2 separate regions of the Homo sapiens genome follow, and region 1 is linked to region 2. The links are contacts of gene promoters, found by promoter capture Hi-C in blood cells and fetal thymus (Javierre and others, 2016). All regions are on one chromosome and are shown on one strand. Each heading gives the region's core, a stretch centred on a gene start or on the middle of the fragment in contact. The rest is flanking DNA. Distances are from core to core; before and after follow the strand shown.

Region 1 (5,977 bases), core at 3,023-5,522, 2.5 Mb before region 2:
GGGAAAGAACCCAGTCGGTGGGAAGTAAAATGGTGTGGCCACTGTGGAAAAGAATATGGTAGTTCCTCAAAAAATTAAAAATAGAATTACCATGTGATCTGGCAATTCCACTGCTGGGTATATACACAAAAGAACTTAAAGCAGGGTCTCAATTTTCAAAAGAAGACATATAAGTGGCCAACACGTATATATTTTTTAAATGCTCCATGTGACTAAGCACCTGGGAAATACAAATTAAAACCACAGGGAGATATCACCTCATACCTGTTAGAATGACTATTACCAAAGACATGAAAGGTAAGTGTTGGCAAGGATGCGGATAGAAACAAACCCTAACACTGGTGGCAAGAGTATGAATTAGTGTAGCCATTATGAAAAATAATATGGAGTTTCCTTCAAAAATTAAAAATAGAACTACTATATGATCCAGCATGTCCTCTTCTGTATATTTATCCAAAGGAAATGAAATCAGTATGTTAAAGAGATACCTGCACACCCATATTCATTGCAGCACTATTTATAAATAGCTAAGATATGGGATCAATCTACATGTCCATCAATAGATAAAGGGTTTCAGAACATGTGGTACCTATACAATGGAATACTATTTAGCCTTTTAAAAGAAGGAAATGTCATTTGCAAAGCCATGAATGAACCTGGTGAACATTACGTTAAGTGAAATAAGCCAGGCACTGAAAGACAAATACTGTATATTTCATTTATATGTGAAATCTTAAAAAGTCAAACTCATAGAAGCACAGAGTAGAATGATGGTTACCAGAGGCTGGGGGAGGGGGTTGGGGAGATGTTGGTAAAAGGATACACAATTTTAGTTAGGCAGGATAAATAAGTTCAGAAGATCTATTGTACATCATTGTGACTATAATTAATAACAATATGTTATGTACTTGAAAATTGCTTTTAAAAAACACAGGGCCTTGAAGAGAAATGTGTATACCCATCTTCATAGTAACATTATTCACAATAGCTAAAACATGGAAGCAACTCAAGTGTCTATCCACAGATGAATGGATAAGCAAAATGTGGCAAAATGTGGGGGGGGGGGGGTGTGTATAACAGAATATTATTCAGCCTTAAAAATGAAGGGAATTTGACATATGCTATAACATGGATGAACTTTGAGGACATTATGCTAAGTGAAATAAGCCAGTCAGAAAAGGATAAATACTGTATTGTTCCACTTACATGAGGTACTTAGAGTAGTCAAAATCATAGAGACAGAAAGTAGAATGGTGGTTGTCAGAGGATGGAAAAGCGGGGAATTGGGAGCTATTGTTTCATGGGTATAGCATTTTAGTTGTGCAAGATGAAAAGAGTTTTAGAGATGGATGGTAGTGACAGTTGTACAGCATTTAAATGTCCTTAACATTACTCAACTGTACACTTAAAAGTGGTTAAGATGGTAAATTTCATGTTATATGTATTTCATCATAATGAAAAAAAAAGAAAAAAAACACAAAAGAGCCCTGCAGAAATTTAAGTTTGCTGTTGTCACGTATTTTTCCTCTTTAAAAGTTACTTCTCCATGAGCACTGCACTTTTCCAAAGGAGGAAGTGTGCTTTATAATTCTGCATGTCTTCAACTTGTAGGTCGGCATCCTGCACCTAACAAGCCCTCAACCAACGTTGCTGCTATTCTTGACAAAATGCCTCATTAATATGTTGTCTGAAATAAAATGAAAGTGGAATAATGTCTCTTCCAAAAAACATTAACCAAAATATTTCTATCCACCTATAAAAAGAGCCATGCAGATAACCCCAAATTCATTAACTCCAAAATTATAAATTATTTTAACATCCTCAAGATAGGTCGATTAAAAAATTCAGTTTACTACTACAAAGAGTAGATGGCTGAAAGCACACAGCTAATTTTCAAAATTATAAAAGAGTACATATCTTAAGACTTTTGTATGAAGAACCAATAAGCTCATTAAATTAATAGGATAATCCGGGATTAATGCACACAGAATTAAATTCTCAATTTCTAGAAGAAGTATCTGTGAGAAAAAAACTGAAAGGTTAATTTACTGCCAGCTATGTATGGAATACTTTATTCAGTAGATTCCTAATATTTAAATTAATCTAATGAATTGTTCAGGAGCCTCTTTAAACCAAGCACCTGGGGAAAAAAAAAAGGGAAATACTTGTAATCCCAGCACTTTGGGAGGCTGAGGCGGGCGGATCGCGAGGTCAGGAGATCCAGACCATCCTGGCTAACACAGTGAAACCCCATCTCTACTAAAAATACAAAAAATTAGCCAGGCATGGTGGCGGGCACCTGTAGTCCCAGCTACTTGGGAGGCTGAGGCAGGAGAATGGCGTGAACCCAGGAGGCAGAGCTTGCAGTGAGCCGATATCACGCCACTGCACTCCAGCCTGGGCAACAGAGCGAGACTCCACCTCAAAAAAAAAAAGGAAATACTGCAATAATTTACTGAAAATTTGCCAAAAACCAGTAACTACAAGAGCAGCTGACACATATTTTGCCTCTTAAAAATAAGAGAAATGTGTGGGGCATGGTGGCTCATGCCTGTAATCCCAGCACTTTGGGAAGCTGAGGTGAGCAGCTCATTCAAGGTCAGGAGTTCAAGACCAGCCTGACCAACATGGTGAAACTCTGTCTCTACTAAAACACAAAAAATTAGCCAGGTGTGGTGGCGGGCATCTGTAATCCCAGCTACTTGGGAGGCTTAGGCAGGAGAATTGCTTGAAGCCAGGAGGTGGAGGTTGCAGTGAGCGGAGATCATGCCACTGCACTCCAGCCTAGGCAACAGAGTGAGACTCTGTCTCAAAAAAAAAAAAAAAAGAAAAAGAAATACAACATCCTCTTAGATGTCAGTTTTGTATCTGTTCATAGAACATACAATGACATTCAGGGAATCAGTGAGCCTAGGAGAGACTCAATCAAATTCAATAGTAAACTACCACAGCAAAGCTTTGATGGTCTCCATCAAAATAAGGAGGCCTGAAACAGTTTATAAACTCAAAGCACCAGAAAAATGGTATACCTGGAGAATGTTAAATCAGTTCCCACTTTCAGGTGGTTCTGCATCTAAATAGATGATTATATTCTAAAGATCTCCTGAGATCGAAATTTCATACCTTTTCTCAGGGAACAGTTAAATCACTCTTCCTCCTCTGTTGAATACTGTCCTGTTTGTCATTACCCCTCTCATTTAAAGCTAATGTAACAGCCAGGCATCAGACCCTTCCTAATCTGGTCCAAGGTGGGATCGCTTATCATCTTTGTTCTTAATGAAAGCTCTGGATTAGGGATGACAAACTGGTTTCAATTGATAATGTCAACTCCAATCAGTTGGTAATGATGCCTGGTACACTGTTGAGAAGAACCATGAGGCCAACTGCCGTTTATCAGGAAGAATTGCCATGATGATTTAGTGTGTGGTGCAAGGGTAATTGAGGCCTATTTGCTATCCCTGTTTGTTTTTCACTTCCCAAGGTGGTCTACTTGAAGTGAAAAAAAGCAAGACAAGATATATTCAGTGGTGGTGAAGATGCTACAGTCCTTCTTCCCTTTCTCTTGGCTCCTGGGTATGGTGGCATGCGGTTGTGCTAGTCTCATGTTATGAGTCCAGTCAGTGGCAAAAGTTATGTGGCAGCTGCTGTCAGAACATTTCCACTTCTCCACTCTACTGTAAGCACAGTACGCTCCCCTGCAAAACTCCAGTAGTCTGCAGCTGGCCCAATTCACTCCAAATGTCAGCTTCCTCATTTGACATGGCCATGTAGCATCATTTTCTCTAGTTCCGTATCACTGGTTACCCACCTTCTTAAGTGTGAGGACCTCCGTATGCTGCAAGAAACTTTTAGAACCCCCACCCTCAACCTAAGAAAATATATGATGACAAAAAATAAACAAATTATGAATTTAATAACACTGAGTAATTTTATATTTTACTACCCACAACTACATCTCTATACATATAAAAATCTATAGCATATAGATGTATGAGGCATAACGCCATCTTAGACAATTATTTGTAGACTTAGGAATTCATGGACTCCCTGGTATACTCTGAGATTCCCTAGGGCATTTTGGCTCCCAGTTGGGAACCACATGATGCTGTGCGTGGAGACTAGAAGGGAGAGGGCTACAGGCCTCATTACGGCAAATCTTCAAAAACAACACTGGGGAAAATTATGTTTCTCCTGGTTCTTTCTTCAAGAAGAAATAAATTTGACCTTCTTTTTTTAGGTTATATTTTTATTTAGTCATTGTCACTGCTCTCCTTTGGATATATTCCAGTTTCCCTCTAAAATGTGGAAATCAAAACTAGACATAAAAATCAAGTCCAAAGTGTATTCCTAAGGAATTCTGTGTTATCATGGGCAATAGCCTAGTCAGCTCTGTATGTGTCCCCAATACCTGGGTTAGACTACCTTTCTACTAGAACTCTCCTTACTCAAGATATACATGAAGCCTACTGACTAAACTAATGCTCCTAAAAGCCTAAAGACCCATATTTGATTTTTATTAATACAATGTATGCTTAATTGTCTACATTATTTTATTTTTAATGGATTAGAGGAATATTTTAAAATAAACTTTATTGTGTGTATTTAAAGTATACAACATGTGTTATAGGATACATACAGATAGTAAAAGGGTTACTACAGTGAAATAAATTAATATATCCATTTCACACAGCTACCTATTTTTCTTGTTTTTGTAGCAAGAGCAGCTAAAACCTACTCAGTGTAAGTCCCATATACAGTACTTTTTTTTCTTCAAAGATGCATTGTGAGCTGCTTTATTATAGTGAAATGAACCATTTAGCAAACTGTGAACTTCATAAGCAAGTGTTTAAAACATGATTTTCAAAGACATTCCTTACCATTGTGTTTAAAGCCATAATGGAAAGAGTTTACATGTACACGTTTAAAAGATGAATCTCAGCATATTACTTCAAAGATGCATTGTGAGCTGCTTTATTACAGGGAAGTGAACTGTTTACCAAACCACAAACTCCCATATACAGTACAACTGTATTACCTACAGTCCTCATATTGTACATTAGGTTTCTGATTGCAGTTTTAAATTCAGACTCATTAAATATAACTTACTCTTCTTAAGCAGGCTGATGAGGAGAGTTTTGAGGTCTTCCTTTAGGTATGGCAGGGAAAAATCAAACTATAAGAATCAAATTTTATTGAATTCCAGAAAGAATAAGGGTCCTAAACTTTTTAGTATTTTATTTGCAATACGGCTGAGATCCTCGGAGATATTTTAGCAAAAAACTTCATTGTAGATGTAAAAAATGTCATTATCATGATAATACAGGTACAGTCAGAAAGGAAGCATAAGTGCTTTCAATGGTAGTAATTTCAATTACCAGCTGAAAGCAATGTAAATGAATTAAATCTAAGAATGTGGTTTTTTTTTTCCAACAGTCAATTTGATGAACTCCTGAACCATCTTTTTATTTGCTGGGAGCTGACATGAAGTAATTATTTTAAACAGAGTACATATTTATGTCATGTAAATCAATTAGGCAAAATGTCTATATCATATTTTAATCTTTTAATTGTCTCTTACTCTTTTCACATCAAGCTTTTATCCAAAGCAATTCTTTAGCAGTATAGAGTTCAGTTGCTTCTGTTAAACAGTAAAAATACCAACAAGGGTAACCAAGTAGTAGATGAAAGACAGTTTTTCCTTATAGAAGTATTAGAGCTGATGAAGAAAACATAATAGAATGAGAATATAATTTTTTGAACTCCTAAGGAATCTACGCATTGATCATGACTGCTAATATCATTAAAAGAGAGACAATCAGCCTCACAATGGAAGAACACACTACCACCTATGAAACATCTTGACAAAAAGCCACATCTGAATGGGCAAGCTGCTAGTCTACCAATTTAAATAAAAATGAACACAATGGAAGAACCTGTTGAACTACTCCTAGTAATGCAGTGAGCAAAATCTAGACTG
Region 2 (5,656 bases), core at 2,318-4,817:
TGCTTCGCCATGCCAGTCAGCCCATTCTCATCCTAAAGTGCCCAAAGAAACATAAACTCCTAACAAGTCTTCTGTTTCTCTGTTCTCCTTTCTTCCATTCATTTCACACACGCCCACCCAATTTATCCTTTTAAAATGTTACTTTAAATATATGACTCATATGCTGAAATATCTTTAGGGAGTCTCTCTGACATGAGGAAAAAACCCACACCCTTTAGCCTAGAATTCAAAGCTCTTGGACAGCTTTGTCTGCTCCAAGTCCCCTAATACAGCCTCTGCTAAACCGGAATAGCCCACTCACTAAATGGCCTTGAACTTCAACACTGTCAAGTGTTGGCTCTTCCTGTTTCTTCTGCCTGGAATGACTTAGCTTGCGGTTTCTACCAGTCTGACGCCTATAGGGCCAAGTTTAGATTCCATACTTCATATGCTCTTGGCCCACTCTACCCCTAAGATAACTCCCCCTTTGCTAAAATCCTGCCCTACCTTCTCATTTGGGCTGTGCTTTATGCTGCTTGACTTTTTTGGTGCACATGGATGCTTCCTCCCAGCTAAATGGTAACTGCCTTAAAACTGAGGGTTGTGTTTTATCTTTGGTATTTTAAAATTATCTAGAACTATGCCTCTTCAGTAATCTCTTAAGAATTGACATACAGCAAGTATTTTTTAATTAACTGAAACCTTAACCATCATGTTTTCTAAGCATTTTGGAAAACATGCAAAAGTATAGCACTCCCATTTTTATTTTTAGTAAGTGTTTAAAGATAAGTAAGTAATATTTGAGTTAACCATTATGAAAACCACAAAAGTAAGTTTACCTTTTGCTCAACTTCCTGTTTCTGAAAATGTCCTTTTCTCACTGAGTGTGTTTAGCTAGAGCATTTAAAAAGTTTGTCCAAAACACACAATCATGGCTTGCCTTTAGCAGAAATAATGTGTGTTCCTGCTTCTCTTTGTAAATAATTGAATTTGCCTCTGCAGTTCAAGAAGATCACGATTTCTTTTTGTGTGTGAAACTGACTTGCTTCTGTTTTCTCCTTATGTGCAGCAGACTATAAGGCAGAAGAAACCCTGTGCAATCGGGATATGGTGGGTAGGGAGGATAATAGAAGAGATTGACATGACTTCCATAGAAGAGTTATTTTTAAGTATAGAGAACGCCTGTCTATCCCCATGCTGAAAGAGCCTTTAGAAAATATTACCAGGATTGAAAGGCGGTGGGGGCAATTCCCATCACCTGGGATAGCCGTGCCAGTCTGCGGAGTGTTGCTGCCACCTGCTGCATGCAAACAGCCATGGAGGGGCTGTTGCCTGGGTCTTGCAGCTGCAGGACACCCGAAGTGTAAGCGTTCAGTTAATATTCTGTGGCCATGCATCTGAAATTGTTATACTTTCAGAACCTGTGTGGATCCCAAAGAAAAATTAATCAAATCTGATGGCTTCAGGCCATAGAAGTTTCTAGATATAAGAATCATTAACTAAGCCCTGAACAATACACAGAAGACAGATTTGCCGTATAGCCACTAAATGCATGGCTCAGGTAGCCCAACCCCAATGAGAGGCAAGAATTCTACTGAAAGTAAGTCTGTAGCACTGGAAAATAAACGACCATTTCCATGTTTCTGAGTTTACAGACTTTTTTGGAACAACTGTTTCACTTTAATACAATAAAAGATAGGAGAAGTCTAAATACCCCAAAGAGGGTATTGTTCTTAGAGAATTCAATAAATGTATATTTGAATTGGTTTCTACTTAGGTAAATTCCTCTTAATATGAAAAATGGAACGAGATCATAGAATCCCTTCTCCAGGCTTGTAATGTGTCCTGATTTAATAGGGACACCAACGTGCAAATCAGGATCTTCATAGTGCATCTCCAGGACTATTTTTGCTGCTATGCTTCATAAAACTTTGATTTACTAGAATTTCCAGGGGCAATGGGAAGAGATGAAGCTACCCAGAGCAGTTATGTCTCTTCCTGACCTTCTATAAAGGACTTTGAGTTCCCAGGCCTTCCCTGGAAAATCACTGTCAGTACTACCTGACCCAATATCCCCAGTGACCTGAAACTCATGGGAAGTTGGGAAGGGGTGATAATAAAGGTTTGGGGAGCACTGGACTAGGCAAGCAGTAACTACATCTAAATTCTGCAAGAAATCATTAGCTGAGGAATACTGAATAAGTATGGCAATTATCATGGCAAGTATTTGCAGTGGTGGTATAGGGGGTGATCTGGACGTCCAGGAAGACAGTCGCCCTTGTTTATTTACATGAAAACCTCTCTTCTCCCATCTAAATTTAATCTCCTGAATGGCAAAAGCATTTCCTTCTGTCTTAGCATCGTCCATATTCACCACGAGTCCTTGCATAGGAGAGATTGGTGTATACATGATGACAACCTGACGAAAATTATCTCCACCTCACCTGAAAAGAATTCCCATCTCAGGATTACAACTGGCCTTTTCATTTGTCTTTGGTCTTGCTAGGTGGTACGTATATTCTAGTAATGAGATTAGGGTCACAGGATATTTTAATCATTCATACGGTTGTATGAAGACACACATGTTTATTTGTAGTTATTCTTTGTCCATCAAACTTACAGTAGTCCTCAGTCTAATGCTTGTTTTCTTAATGTTGGAGGGTGATGACAGCCTATTTTATCTCAGGCTGAAAAACTAATACAATTAAATCAGAGAATCATAGCAGGGAACAGTCATCGTGTTCTACGAATAGCCAGACATTTTTACCAAGGGGTCACTTTCCTGAAACCTGTTTGCGGTTCTCTGTAAATAGAAGTAACTAGGCAGATGTAATAAGCCTAATAGCTCACTGAGGTGGGAATTCTCTGCCTTTGGATTCTGATTGTTACTGCCTTGCTTTGGCTTAGGCATGGATAAACTCTTCTGTGGTGAACAAAAATGGCCTCCAGCCAACCTGGTGGGAGACTTCCCTATCTGACCTCCAACCTTCCCTCGTCTTCCCAGACGAGGGGTAGAAAAGTAGCCCTCACTCCTCCACTCCCAGGAAATGTGCATTTCCCTGCAAGAGGAGAGACAATAAAATTTGGTTTGATAGCTGACACTATTCCCTGTTACTTTTCAGATTTTATTAAAATTAAATGTGTTAATTCTTTGTTCTTTCACCCCAGGGCAATTCTGGAAAGAAAACATATCTTAAGATTGAACAGAAAAACTATTATGAAAAACACCAAGCTCACATTTGTTAAATGACTTTGTGCTCTTGAAAAAAATGTATAAAAAGCACATTGCCAACTGCTCTGCGTGATATCCTTTGTTTGGATTTTAGACGCAGCTTGACTGACACAGAGATCCTGAATAAGAGACTCTTTGGATACTGAAAAGTCTCTTAAATAAGGTGATACACAAATTTCAGAGAACAATTTCAACATTGTTCTGTCGAACGTTATACTCAGTCCTGAACCACATTACTTTCCTGTCTACGTTTCATTTCCTGGGGGCTTGCCAAGTGATAAACAGACCCAGGCGTGTGTGGTAGAGTTCGGGTTTTTTAGCACGAAGTGGGTGGCTGGAGTTTGCTTGAAAACATCAATTGACTTTGTGATCATTACAGAAATGCTGGTGTAAGGTGTTCAGAAGACAATGGAGAAAAAATGGAAATACTGTGCTGTCTATTACATCATCCAGATACATTTTGTCAAGGGTAAGACTTCCAGTTGTCCCTTCTTGTCGGATGGGCCGCTTTAGGGGCGGATGGGGCCTCTGTTCATTTAAAATGCCTTGTGACTGCTGCTGAAATTGATCACCAAAGGACAAATCATTACTAAGGGTTTCAGTTATGTATTTAAGCGGCAGGTATAAGAGAGATGCTAGAATCTAGAAATGATTACTAATGAACACTAAAAATAAGAAGGGAATGGGTCATTTGTGCCACTGCTCTGAGGCATTTTCACCCATTTCCTTTCTAACAGGATCTCTGGAGTAATTGGCAAATTGTGTTTCTTGGAAATGAAATGCTCTCCAAATGGTAGCCAAAACAACTGCGGAAAAATTAAAAATTACAAAGCCATCAACGCTCAGAGATCCTTGTTTAACTTTTTTCTCTCTCAAGTACTCTCTTTCTTTTGGATATAACAAGTATTTCTCATCCAAATACTAAGGTCTTTGGGAGTTGAAAACACGTTGAATTTTAATGAGGCATGTGTAGGTATGAACCTGGGAGACAAAGTGGAATCCTTATGACAGTGGGAACGAGAGCCTAATGGGCCTATTTAAAAAGAGAAGGAAGCAAGATTAGTTCTGTATTCCACAGTATGAGAGTATCATAGTAAGCCTGAGTGTCTTAAGAATTAACTGTGCTTTTCAGACATAGCTATGAAAATATTAAGGAGAATTTCTAAATCAAAAGAGATTTGGAATATAATGCTGTAGATAGGATCAGAGCCATATTTTCAGGCAAAGGATAGCTCACAGGAAGTTACATTAAACTGTACTAACCTCTGCCTACCAAACTTTTGCATCCACAGAAGTATGATAATTCCCATTTGTCAAGTACTTTTACTTTTAAGAGGCTTGTTTCTTCTCAGTTGCTTGTCATCTTTTTATCTTTTCCTTTTGTGAGCTTCAGTGGTACTTGTCACAATAATATATATCATTTCTGTAACAGGATTCCATGTTAATTCTAAAACTGAGGCCAACACTATTGAAGGCATGTCACAGTCTCAATGCTTAACACATTTTAAGTGTCCTGTATCACTCAGTCAGACTGCTGATGGGAAAGAGACTCTACTTATGTCTAGTATTTCAGACCATCGATTAGAGGTGATACTAAGTGGAACCTCTACCTAAGGTTAGATGAGGTCCTTTCAATCCTTGTATATTGAAAGTGAAATTTCTTACTCTAATCAACTAGACTGAATTTGGGAGACAGTTTGGAAGTTATGTGGAAGGAAAATAAAATAAAATAAGTAATAATAAAGTTTAAAATAATAAGCATAACATAGGTAATAGTTAACATTAAGTATAGGTTACTTAGAAGTTATATGTAGGCTAAGAAATTTAAGTAGCCCCTCCCAGCATTGCTAACAAGTTGCAGCTGTGAGCTTATCTCAACCTTCCAAGCTTCTTGCCTGCCCCCAGACCCCCACATATTTCTGTAACTCCTGTTTTACCTTACCCCATCTCTGTCTAGCTTCAAGATTGACTGGTTAAGATAACTAAATTGTAAGTTTTCTCAGAATTGTCACGGGTTAAATAATTTACTGTCTTTGCCTGAAACCTGTATCCTGCCTTGTTTTCCCACCTCAAACGACATATAAGCAAGCCTGCTTTCTTTGTCAGAGTCAGCAGCCATTTTGGGCATGAGTCTGCTGTGGGCCTGGATGCCTGAATTAAATAAAGTTCTCTTTGGTCTCTAAAGGTCTCTTTGTCTTCCTTGGCTGGAGTTTTACTGTTATACTTATGAGGGTTATAGAAAGACCACAGACTCTGGGCAACTGAATTCATTCTTTTACTGGAGGTGTGACTTTTTTTGTTTTGTTTCGTTTTTCGTTTTTTTGAGATGGAGTCTCACTCTGTTGCCAGGCTGGAGTGCAGTGGCATGATTTCGGCTCACTGTAATCTCCGCCTCCCAGGTTCAAGCGATTCTCCTGCTTCAGCCTCCCAAGTAGCTGGGACTAC

Evidence for each region. Contacts are between HindIII fragments. The CHiCAGO score rates a contact against its expected background, and 5 or more counts as called.
Region 1: a contact is called between a fragment that was not itself captured here and the fragment with the promoter of CD96 in region 2, in 1 of 17 cell types (naive B cells). The highest score is 11.7, in naive B cells.

The regions. Positions count from the first base shown.
Region 1 is chr3:109,042,134-109,048,110 of GRCh38, forward strand. The region is part of intron 14 of MORC1 (MORC family CW-type zinc finger 1); the gene reads right to left. Among named protein-coding and RNA genes, the nearest start is that of MORC1-AS1, 56 kb to the right of the region's middle. The HindIII fragment of the contact is 2,637 bases long and covers 2,955-5,591 here.
Region 2 is chr3:111,538,630-111,544,285 of GRCh38, forward strand. It overlaps CD96 (CD96 molecule), which reads left to right and starts at 3,568. Exons shown (of 14, transcript NM_005816.5): 1 at 3,568-3,680. The coding sequence starts at 3,620. LOC105374039 (a long non-coding RNA gene) reads left to right here. Exons shown (of 3, transcript XR_001740846.1): 3 at 3,306-3,374. The HindIII fragment of the contact is 7,700 bases long and covers 1-5,096 here.